Regions from separate parts of the Homo sapiens genome. Here region 2 is linked to region 1. Evidence: promoter capture Hi-C in human tissues and cell types (Jung and others, 2019). All regions are on one chromosome and are shown on one strand. The core of a region is centred on a gene start or on the middle of the fragment in contact, and the rest is flanking DNA. Distances in the headings are between cores, read along the strand shown.

Region 1 (5,088 bases), core at 1,621-4,120:
AGCAGGATTCTTCTAACTATAAGATTTGTTGAGCTAGCATTTGCCGGCAAGCACTGCACATCACGTTCTAAATATTCCTATTATTTCATCTTCATAATAGCCTGGGAGGTATGTGCTGCTCTAATTGTCCTCATTTTACAGATGAGCAAATGGAAGATGGGCAAGTTCAGCGCTTGCCTGGAGTAATTCTGTTCATACGACTCGTAGACAGGACTTAGATGTAGAAAGTTTGAATTTAGAAAAATATCCAGCCTGACAAAAATAATCTGTGAACGCATTTTGTGTAAATATCCAGCAAAAAACAGTTATGCATAACCTAATTAAATAGAATGAATATCAACTGTAAAAAAAAGTTACAAATAAACTTAATTTGGTGAATTATACTTACAAAACAACAGAACACTTGACTTAGCCATCATTTTGACCCTGCCTCTTTATTTTCCTGCAGGCCTGTTTTTCCATTCTTGGGGATTTTAAGTTGGCACAGCTCAGTGGAGGCTGGCCCCGAAGTCAGGAGATGTGGTCCAAAGCCCGGCTGGGCGATTAACCCTGTGGATCTCAGCTTCTCCTCTTCCGGGCGAGCATGAGCCTGAGGGTCCCAGGGCTCCCCAGGTCCCTTCCAGCAATTGGTCACACCCTGCTCTAGGTTGAAGGGAAGACTGAGACCCCAATTCTTCCCATATTTAGAATATCAAAGGCCGTTAACTTCTCATTGTTAATCCAAGGACTCTCCCTCTCCAGAAACAACATTTGGTAACCTGGAAATCCTCACCTTCCAGGAATAGAGAAACATTCCTCAGAAGAAGAGAAATGCTTGGCAGCACCTGCAGACCCCCCACCCATCTGCTGCTGGGACCCCCCCCCCAAACCATCTGCTCCCCCCAGTGCCGCCCCAGGGGTCCTTGGTGATTGTTTCATCTGTCCTGGCTCCGGAAGCAGCACGGCCTGCGGCCGGAGTCAGCACCAGGCTGAGCAATGCTGAGCACCAGCTGTGCAACCTAGGGAAACTTACTTAACTTCTCTGTCTCAGTTTCCTCATCCGTAGAATGAAACGTAGCGTCATGTAAAATGCCCACCTCATCGGGTTGTCATGAGAGATGAATTCGGCAAATGAAACTTCACCAGGGGCTGACTTAGCCCAGCGAGCCACAGGCATGGGTTACCGGAGCAGAATGTGCCTCTGGGTCTGGGGCGCTTTCTACTCTAACTGCCCGAGGCAGCTGCAGTAATAATGGTGGTGCTGATAGGGCCTTTCTATGGAGCTCTTAAGAGGGTTTAATGACAGGAGCGAACACTTGGCCATGAGCTTAGAACAGTACCTGCATGCAGTAAGCACCACAGAACGGTGTTAGAATACACAGCTCAGGTACAGCCTTGGCAGGCTCTTCCCACCTCCCCACCTCATCAGCCCACACTGCCGGGTACGTCGCAGTCCCCTAAGGACAGCTGTGTGGGGCTGGCCCTGCAGAGGCCAGCCAAGAACAGGATGGTAAATGCGAAAGTTCTGGATGCCCAGCTTCATAAGGACAGGTTAGAAAAACTAAATCAAACTCCTTTGACGAAACCAGATCCTACTGTCTCTGCCTTGAGGTAGATTCTTACAAGAGCAGGAGGCTAACAAAGCATCCCCTGCTGCGGATTGTCAAAGGACAGTGAGGCTCCATCCCACAGGAAGGATGAGCAGCCAGGCTACCTGGCCTCAGCCCATCCAGGGACACCGGGCATGCATGGATGGAGCCACGGATGAGCCAGTGCCGCTCACCCCTGCCCCAGCCTCTGCACGCCACACATCCACGTTTATGCTTGTGTTTTTCCAAAAGAAAGATTTCGGTGCCTGTCTGCAGCAGAATGTAGTTTGAATTTGCAAAGGTCTTTTAAAACTCTTTTCGTATGAACAATCAAAGTAAAAGATAGCTTTGCAGAGAGCTAATTGTTTACCGGCCGTCCACCACCAACAGCAGTCTGATTAAACACCAGACTCCTGGGTGCTCAGCTCCCAGTCCTGGGCAGCCAAACCCACCTTCCTTAAGTGGTAGCCAGGCAACCTGCCAGCTCGCTTTTCATATGCAAACTGCCCCAAGACTGTTAAAAGTCGCTGTGTGTCCCGGCAGTCACAGGATTTTCCATAGACTTACCACAAATACTCTCTAGTTATGTTCAAAACCACTTTTCAGCTGCTAATAATGTTAACAATCAGAGTCTCTCTTTAATCTACTAATAATGTTAACAATCAGAGTCTCTCTTTAATCTACTAATAATGTTAACGATCAGAGTCTCTCTCTAATCTACTAATAATGATGTTAACAATCAGAGTCTCTCTCTAATCTCCAGTTACTTTTCAGATATTCCGGGAGTTGTTTCTAATTCTCTCCTCAATAACAAACTCTCATGTGGAATCTTCTTCTTCGGAAACTGAAAACATAAAGCGTTTACCCGGGTTCCCAGGCAGGTATATACATTGAAATAGCAGCAGCCACAACCCTCAGAGAGGAAGGGGTGCCCGGCTGGTGAAAGCACAGCCACGGAGGAAAAGCTGAGGAGCGGCCACGTGCCTTGCTCTTCAAGCGGGCAGTAGAAACACCACGTGAAGAAACACTTGCCATTTAGTGTTAATAGATACACCACCCACCTTAAGTTAAGAATCGAAATTGCTCCTTTTTCTTCTCCGCTTCTTAGAGTTCGAGAACTCTAATTTCTTAAAATTAGAGCACCATTAAATAATTGATTGAGTTTAAGAAATAATCGTACCTGGTTTGCCAAAAAGATGCAGTGATGACTGGTTTCAGTGTTCCGGACCGAGTCAGAAAGGCGCAGGCTCTGCTGGAGCGAGAGACCGGCCCTGCAGTGCAGGATGCTCCGGTGGACGTGGCCGAGCGGCTCCCGGGCAGCGCGGCTTTATATGCCGCTTCTCCTGTGCAGGGCTGTCAATCAGACACACGAGGAAGCACGTTTAATTCATTCCTTCGAAGGAATGACATCATCCCCCTTCTGATCTCACCATTTGCTCCGAGTACCTGCTGCAGGGGTCCAAGTCCAGCCCCTCTGTACTGGATGCCGTCTCCTCCTCCTGCACCCCGGCCCCTGCCAGACAGGCCTGGGAGGAGCCAGACGGAGAGAGGGAAGGCAGGGACTCACTTTTCCTGTCTTCTCTCAGGAAATAAGATGCTATAAATAACACTAGCAAGATTGGCTAGAACTCCTCATTTTGCTTAAGAGAAAAAAATGCAAGTTCTATGCCTTAAATATGTTTCGAATTACTCAATGTGATATTGGTCTTTCTAAACCAAATGAGTGACTCTCAATAACACATGAAATACATCGGTGAGTATCAATAATCAGTCTGTATATTAATAAAGTTATTATGGTCAATAATCAAGTGTATTATGTGACAAAAATGAAATTTAATATAAAAGGAAGTTGCCAACATTTATCTCAGGCAGTTAGAGGACTGAAAAGCTGTACTGCAGCTTTGGGAAAATTCATTTTTACCCAAATTCTGCTTCATTTGCTCAGTGAGGATCCCCTAGAAGGACGTCTCCCAGTGGACGTGCAATACCCGTAGAAGGGTGTGTCCCAGTGGACGTACAGTACCCGGCCAAGTCCCCTTGGTGCACACTTGCACGTGGCCCCATCACAGGAACAACCTGACGTGCAGGCACAGAGCAAGGACTCGAGAGAACGAGAAGCAGTGGCAGCAGCTAACCCCCGCCCCTCCCACACCTCAGGCATCACCCGCAATCAGGGTGCACTCTGCATGGGGGTGGGGGGCACCGCTTCTCAGAGGTCAGGGTGGACGATGGATGCGGAGGGGCTGCTTCTCCCAGGTCAGGGTATACAGTGGAAAGGGGAAGCTGCTGCTCTAAGGTGGGGGTTGATGGTACATGGGGGAGGGGCTGCTTCTCCCAAGTTGGGCTGGACAGTGGATGGGGGAGGTGCCACTTCTCCCAGGCCAGTGTGAAAGGTGGATGGTGGAGAGGCTGTTTCTCCCAGGTCAGTGTGCAAGGTGGCTGGGGATGTGTTGTTTCTCCCAGGTCAGGGTTAATGGCAGACAGGGGAGCTGCTGCTTCTCCTGGGTTGGGGTGGACCTTGGATGGGGGAGGTGCTACTTCCCCAGGTGGGGTGGATGGTGACTGGGGAGCTGCTGCTTTGCCCGGAGCCACCTGCACCTGCTTCATGTCGGCACCTGCCTGTCAGGTTCCTTCACGTTTGTGTGGAGTTGTCAGCCTGGCCATGGATCCGTCAAGTCCTAGTTAGAGAACATTAAAGCGAATTTCTGTGGACACAACCCTTACTGTGTCTGTGGCAGGGGAGTGTCTCTTAAGCCTCCTGGCATTCCCCCACAGGGGTCCAGCGCTGCAGAGGTCGGCAGGCACCATGAAGAGCAAGCCTCACTTTCTGGCCTCTGTCTTCAGGGAGGATATGCGAGCGGGTGTGGGAGAGGGAAGGAGCTTTCATTTGTGAAAACCTCTGTTTTTCCTAATGGCACCTGTTTATTTATCACTTGGCAAACATCAGTTTCCGACACATGCACAGACAAAAGCCTCCAAGAGTGTATGTGTCATGTTTAAGGTACGTTATTTTGCTTTTTAAGCTATTAGGGACAAAGTCATCATTTGAATTAAAAAGTAGTTTAAATAGATTGATGTTATCTCAAATTCAAAAAAAGTATAAACCAGTTCCCCTTAAAGAATTTTCAGTGGATAATTATCCATTCATCAGTTTGAGTTTTTCTGCCTCCAGGTTAGTTTTTCCTGGGGCCAGAACATGGAGGGCGGCATCCCCTACTCTGCGTGCCACGGCCTCTCCTGTTCCTCAGTCCACAGAATGCGTGTTTCCTGATTAAAGCTGAAGACAGGCAGCTCAGCTGCTCAGCACTTCAGGAGCATGCGGTGAAGACCGTGACACTCACTGGGGAGCAGGAAGGTATGTATTCATGACTCCACGTGCCGATGGGCAGGTACAGAGAAGATGGGCCTCCTTCTGTAAAATCTGGCAGCCCAGAATCAGGGAAGTCTGTTTAGAGGAGACAGAAGGTAAGCCGATTGGAACATGGCCCGTGAATGGGGTGTCCCCAGTTGAGAAAGTATT
Region 2 (5,130 bases), core at 2,576-5,075, 100 kb after region 1:
GTAGCAGTCGTGAATAGGAGTTCACTCATGATCTGGCTCTCTATTTGTCTATTATTGGTGTACAGGAATGCTTGTGATTTTGCATGTTGATTTTGTATCCTGAGACTTTACTGAAGTTGCTTATCAGCTTAAGGAGATTTGGGGCTGAGACGATGGTGTTTTCTATAGACAATCATGTCATCTGCAAACAGAGACAATTTGACTTCCTGTCTTCCTATTTGAGTGTGCTTTATTTCTGTCTCTTGCCTAATTGCCCTGGCCAGAACTTCCAATACTATGTTGAATAAGAGTGGTGAGAGAGGGCATCCTTGTCTTGTGCCAGTTTTCAAAGGGAAAGTTTCCAGCTTTTGTGCCTTCAGTATGATATTGGCTGTGGGTTTGTCATAAATAGCTCTTATTATTTTGAGATGTGTTCCATCAATACCTAGTTTATTAAGAGTTTTTAGCATGAAGGGATGTTGAATTTTATTGAAGCCCTTTTCTACATCTATTGAGATAATCATATGGTTTTTGTCGTTGGTTCAGTTTATATGATGGATTATGTTTATTGATTTGCGTATGTTGAACCAGCCTTGCATCCCAGGGATGAAGCCAACTTGATCATGGTGGATAAGCTTTTTGATGTGCTGCTGGATTTGGTTTGCCAGTATTTTATCAGGGATTTTTACGTCAATGTTCATCAGGGATATTGGCCTGAAATTTTCTTTTTTTGTTGTGTCTTTGCCAGGTTTTTGGTATCAGGATGATGCTGGCCTCATAAAATGCGTTAGCTATGGTTCCCTCTTTTTCTATTTTTTGGAATAGTTTTGGAAGGAATGGTACCAGCTCCTCTTTGTACCTCTGGTAGAATTCAGCTGTGAATCCATCTGGTCCTGGGCTTTTTTGGGTTGGTAGGCTATTAATTACTGCCTCAATTTCAGAACTTGTTATTCATCTATTCAGGGATTCGACTTCTTCCTGGTTTAGTCTTGGGAGGGTGTATGTATCCAGGAATTTATCCATTTCTTCTAGATTTTCCAGTTTATTTGCATAGAGGTGTTTATAGTATTCTCTGATGGTAGTTTGTATTTCTGTGGGATCAGTGGTGATCTCCCCTTTATCATTTTTTATTGTGTCAATTTGAGTCTTCTCTCCCTTCTTCCTTATTAGTCTGGCTAGCGTTCTATCTATTTTGTTAATCTTTTCAAAAAACCAGCTCCTCGATTCATTGATTTTTTTGAAGGGTTTTTCATGTCTCTATCTCCTTCAGTTCTGCTCTGATCTTAGTTATTTCTTGTCTTCTGCTAGCTTTTGAATTTGTTTGCTCTAACTTCTATAGTTGTTTTAATTGTGATGTTAGGGTGTCGATTTTATATCTTTCTCACTTTCCCTTGTGGGCATTTAGTGCTATAAATTTCCCTCTAAACACTGCTTTAACTGTGTCCCACAGATTCTGGTACATTGTGTCTTTGTTTCAAAGATCTTCTTTATTTCTGCCCTTATTTCGTTATTTACCCAGTAGTCATTCATGAGCAAGTTGTTTAGTTTCCATGTAGTTGTGTGGTTTTGAGTGAGTTTCTTAATCCTGAGTTCTAATTTGATTGCACTGTGGTCTGAGGCAATGTTTGTTATGATTTCCATTATTTTGCATTTGCTGAGGAGTGTTTTACTTCCAATTATGTGGTCAATTTTAGAATAAGTGAAATGTGGTGCTCAGAAGAATGTATATCTGTTGATTTGGGGTGGAGAGTTATGTAGATGTCTATTAGGTCCACTTGGTCCAGAGCTGAGTTCACTTCCTAAATATCTTTGTTAATTTTCTGTCTTGTTGATCTGTCTAATATTGACAGTAGGGTGTTAAAGTCTCCCAGTATTATTGTGTGGGAATCTAAGTCTCTTTGTAGGTCTCTAAGAACTTGCTTTATGAATCTGGGTGCTCATGTATTGGATGCATATATATTTATTATAGTTAGCTCTTCATGTTGCATTGATCCCTTTACCAATATATAATGCCCTTCTTTGTCTTTTTTGATCTTTGTTGGTTTAAAGTCTGTTTTATCAGAGACTAGGATTACAACCCCTGCTTTTTTTGCTTTCCATTTGCTTGGTAAATATTCCTCCACACCTTCATTTTGAGCCTATGTGTGTCTTTGCCCATGAGATGGGTCTCCTGAATCCAGCACACTGATGGGTCTTGACTCTTTATCCAATTTGCCAGTCTGTGTCTTTTAATTGGGGCATTCAGCCCATTTACATTTAAGGTTAATATTGTTATGTGTGAATTTGATCCTGTCATTATGATGCTAGCTGGTTATTTTGCCCATTAGTTGATGCAGTTTCTTCATAGTGTTGATGGTCTTTACAATTTGGTATATTTTTGCAGTGCCTGGTACTGTTTTTTCCTTTCCATATTTAGTGCTTTCTTCAGGAGCTCTTGTAAGGCAGGCCTGGTGGGGACAAAATCTCTCAGGAATTGCTTGTATATAAAGGATTTCATTTCTCCTTCACTTATGAAGCTTAGTTTGGCTGGATATGAAATTCTGGGTTGAAAATTCTTTTCTTTAAGAATGTTGAATATTGGCCCCCACTCTCTTCTGGATTGTAGGGTTTCTGCAGAGAGATCTGCTGTTAGTCTGATGGGCTTCCCTTTGTGGGTAACCTGATCTTTCTCTCTGGCTGCCCTTAACATTTTTCTCCTTCATTTCAACCTTGGTGAATCAGACGATTATGTGTCTTGGGGTTGCTCTTCTCAAGGAGTATCTTTGTGGTGTTCTCTGTATTTCCTGAACTTGAATGTGGGCCTGTCTTGCTAGGCTGGGGAAGTTCTCCTAGATAATATCCTGAAGAGTGTTTTCCAACTTGGTTCCATTCTCCCCATCACTTTCTGGTATACCAATCAAACGTAGGTTTGGTCTTTTCACATAGTCCCATATTTCTTAGAGGCTTTGTTCATTCCTTTTTATTCTTTTTTCTCTAATCTTGTCTTCACACCTTATTTCATTAAGTTGATCTTCAATCTCTGATATCCTTTCTTTTGCTAGATCGATTCAGCTATTGATACTTGTGTATGCTTCATGAAGTTCTTGGGCTGTGTTTTTCAGCTCCATCAGGTCATTTATGTTCTTCTCTAAACTGGTTATTCTAGTTAGCAATTCCTCTTTTTTCAAGGTTTTTGGCTTCCTTTCATTGGGTTAGAACATGCTCCTTTAGCTCAGAGGAGTTTGTTATTACCCACCTTCTGAAGCCTACTTCTATCAGTTTGTCAAACTCATTCTCTGTCCAGTTTTGTTCCTTTGCCGACAAGGAGGTGTGATCCTTTGGAGGAGAAGAGGTGTCCTGGTTTTTGGAATTTTCAGCCTTTTTGCACTGGCTTTTCCTCATCTTTGTGTATTTATCTACCTTTGGTCTTTGATGTTGGTTACCTTCAGATGGGGTTTTTGTGTGGACGCCCTTTTTGTTGATGTCAATGCAATTCTTTTCTGTTTATTAGTTTTCCTTCTCACAGTCAGGCCCCTCTACTGCAGGTCTGCTGGAGTTTGATGGAGGTCCACTCCAGACCCTGTTTTTTGCCTGGGTATCACCAGCGGAGGTTGCAGAAGAGCAAAGATTGCTGCCTGTTCCTTCCTCTGGAAGCTTTGTCCCAGCAGGACACCCACCAAATGCCAGCTGGAGCTCTCCTGTATGAGGTGTCTGTTGAGCCCTGCTGGGAGGTGTCTCCCAGTCAGGAGGCACAGGGGTCAGGGACTCACCTAAGGAGGCAGCCTGTCCCTTAGCAGAGCTCGAGCGCTGTGCTTAGAGATCCGCTGCTGTCTTCAGAGCTGGCAGACAGGAATGGTTAAGTCTGCTGAAGCTGTGCCCAGAGCTGCCCCTTCCCCCAGGTGCTCTGTCCCAGATAAGCCCCTGACTGGGGCTGCTGCCTTTCTTTCAGAGATGCCCTGCCCAGAGAGGAGGAATCTAGAGAGGCAGTCTGGCTACAGCGGCTTTCCTGAGCTGCAGTGGGCTCTGCCCAACTCAAACTTCTTAGCAGCGTTGTTTACACCATGAGGGAAAAACTGCCTCCTCAAGCCTCAGTAATGGCAGACGCCGCTCCCCCCAAGAAGCTCAAGAGTCCCAGGTCAACTTCAGACAGCTGTGTTGGCAGGGAGAATTTCAAGCTAGTAGATCTTAGCTTGCTGGGCTCTGTGGGGGTGGGATCTGCTGAGCTAGACCACTTGGCTCCGTGGCTTCAGCGCCCATTCCAGGGGAGCAAATGGTTCTGTCTTGCTGGCTTTCCAGGAGCCACTGGGGTATGAAAAAAAATTCTTGCAGCTAGCTCAGTGTCTCCCCAAACAGCCGCTCAGTTTTGTGCTTGAAACCCAGGACGTTGGTGGTGTAGACACATGAGGGAGTCTCCTAGTCTGCAGATTGTGAAGACCGTGGGAAAAGCATAGTATCTGGGCTGGAATGCACCATTCCTCATGGCACAGTCCCTTACCGCTTCCCTTGGCTAAGGGAGGGAGTTCCCCGACTCCTTGCATTTCCCGGGTGAAGCGACACCCCACCCTCCTTCAGCTCACCCTCCGTGGGCTGTACCCACTGTCTAACTAGCCCCAGTGAGATAAGCCAGGTACCTCAGTTGGAAATGCAGAAATTGCCTGCCTTCTGCATTGATGTTACTGGGAGCTGCAGACTGGAGCTCTTCCTATACAGCCATCTTGCCAGCCACCTCAATTTTTATAATTTTTAACAGAAGTGAGATCCCAGGTTTTGCGGGCTTAAATGTTGTACAACTTGGAGAACTCTCTATGAAAATTGCATGCATAAAATTATAAAGAGTTGAGAACATTTATTTAGAGTAAGAAAATAATTTATGATAAATTAAATATTTTAAATATGATAGTTACCACAGGCATCACAAAATTCAAGAAAATAGCATTTTTAAAAATTGTTAAAGTGCACAGCACACCTTTATAATACTTTAACTTCAGTTTTTGGCTACATTTTGTTTTCTTATTTCTTCATAAATGACCATAAGGTCATGCAACTTTGTACCATGATATTGGGGGAACCCAGCCCCCAATATTTCAACATAGGTTCTTTCTATTTTCCATAAGTGTTAGTGGGCTGAGAAATAAAGACAGACCGTACAAAGAGAGGAATTTTACAGCTGGG

Evidence for each region. The method cuts DNA at HindIII sites, captures the fragments that hold promoters and counts their contacts. A contact is called where the count stands out against the background at its distance.
Region 2: a contact is called between a fragment that was not itself captured here and the fragment with the promoter of THBS2 in region 1, in 2 of the 25 tissues and cell types used here (aorta and bladder).

What each region holds. Positions count from the first base shown.
Region 1 is chr6:169,250,976-169,256,063 of GRCh38, forward strand. THBS2 (thrombospondin 2) reads right to left here and starts at 2,871. Exons shown (of 22, transcript NM_003247.5): 1 at 2,749-2,871. RefSeq lists enhancers at 407-920, 1,433-1,945, 1,946-2,457. The HindIII fragment of the contact is 15,923 bases long and covers 1-5,088 here.
Region 2 is chr6:169,349,634-169,354,763 of GRCh38, forward strand. No RefSeq gene overlaps it. Among named protein-coding and RNA genes, the nearest start is that of LINC02519, 36 kb to the right of the region's middle. The HindIII fragment of the contact is 4,542 bases long and covers 1,555-5,130 here.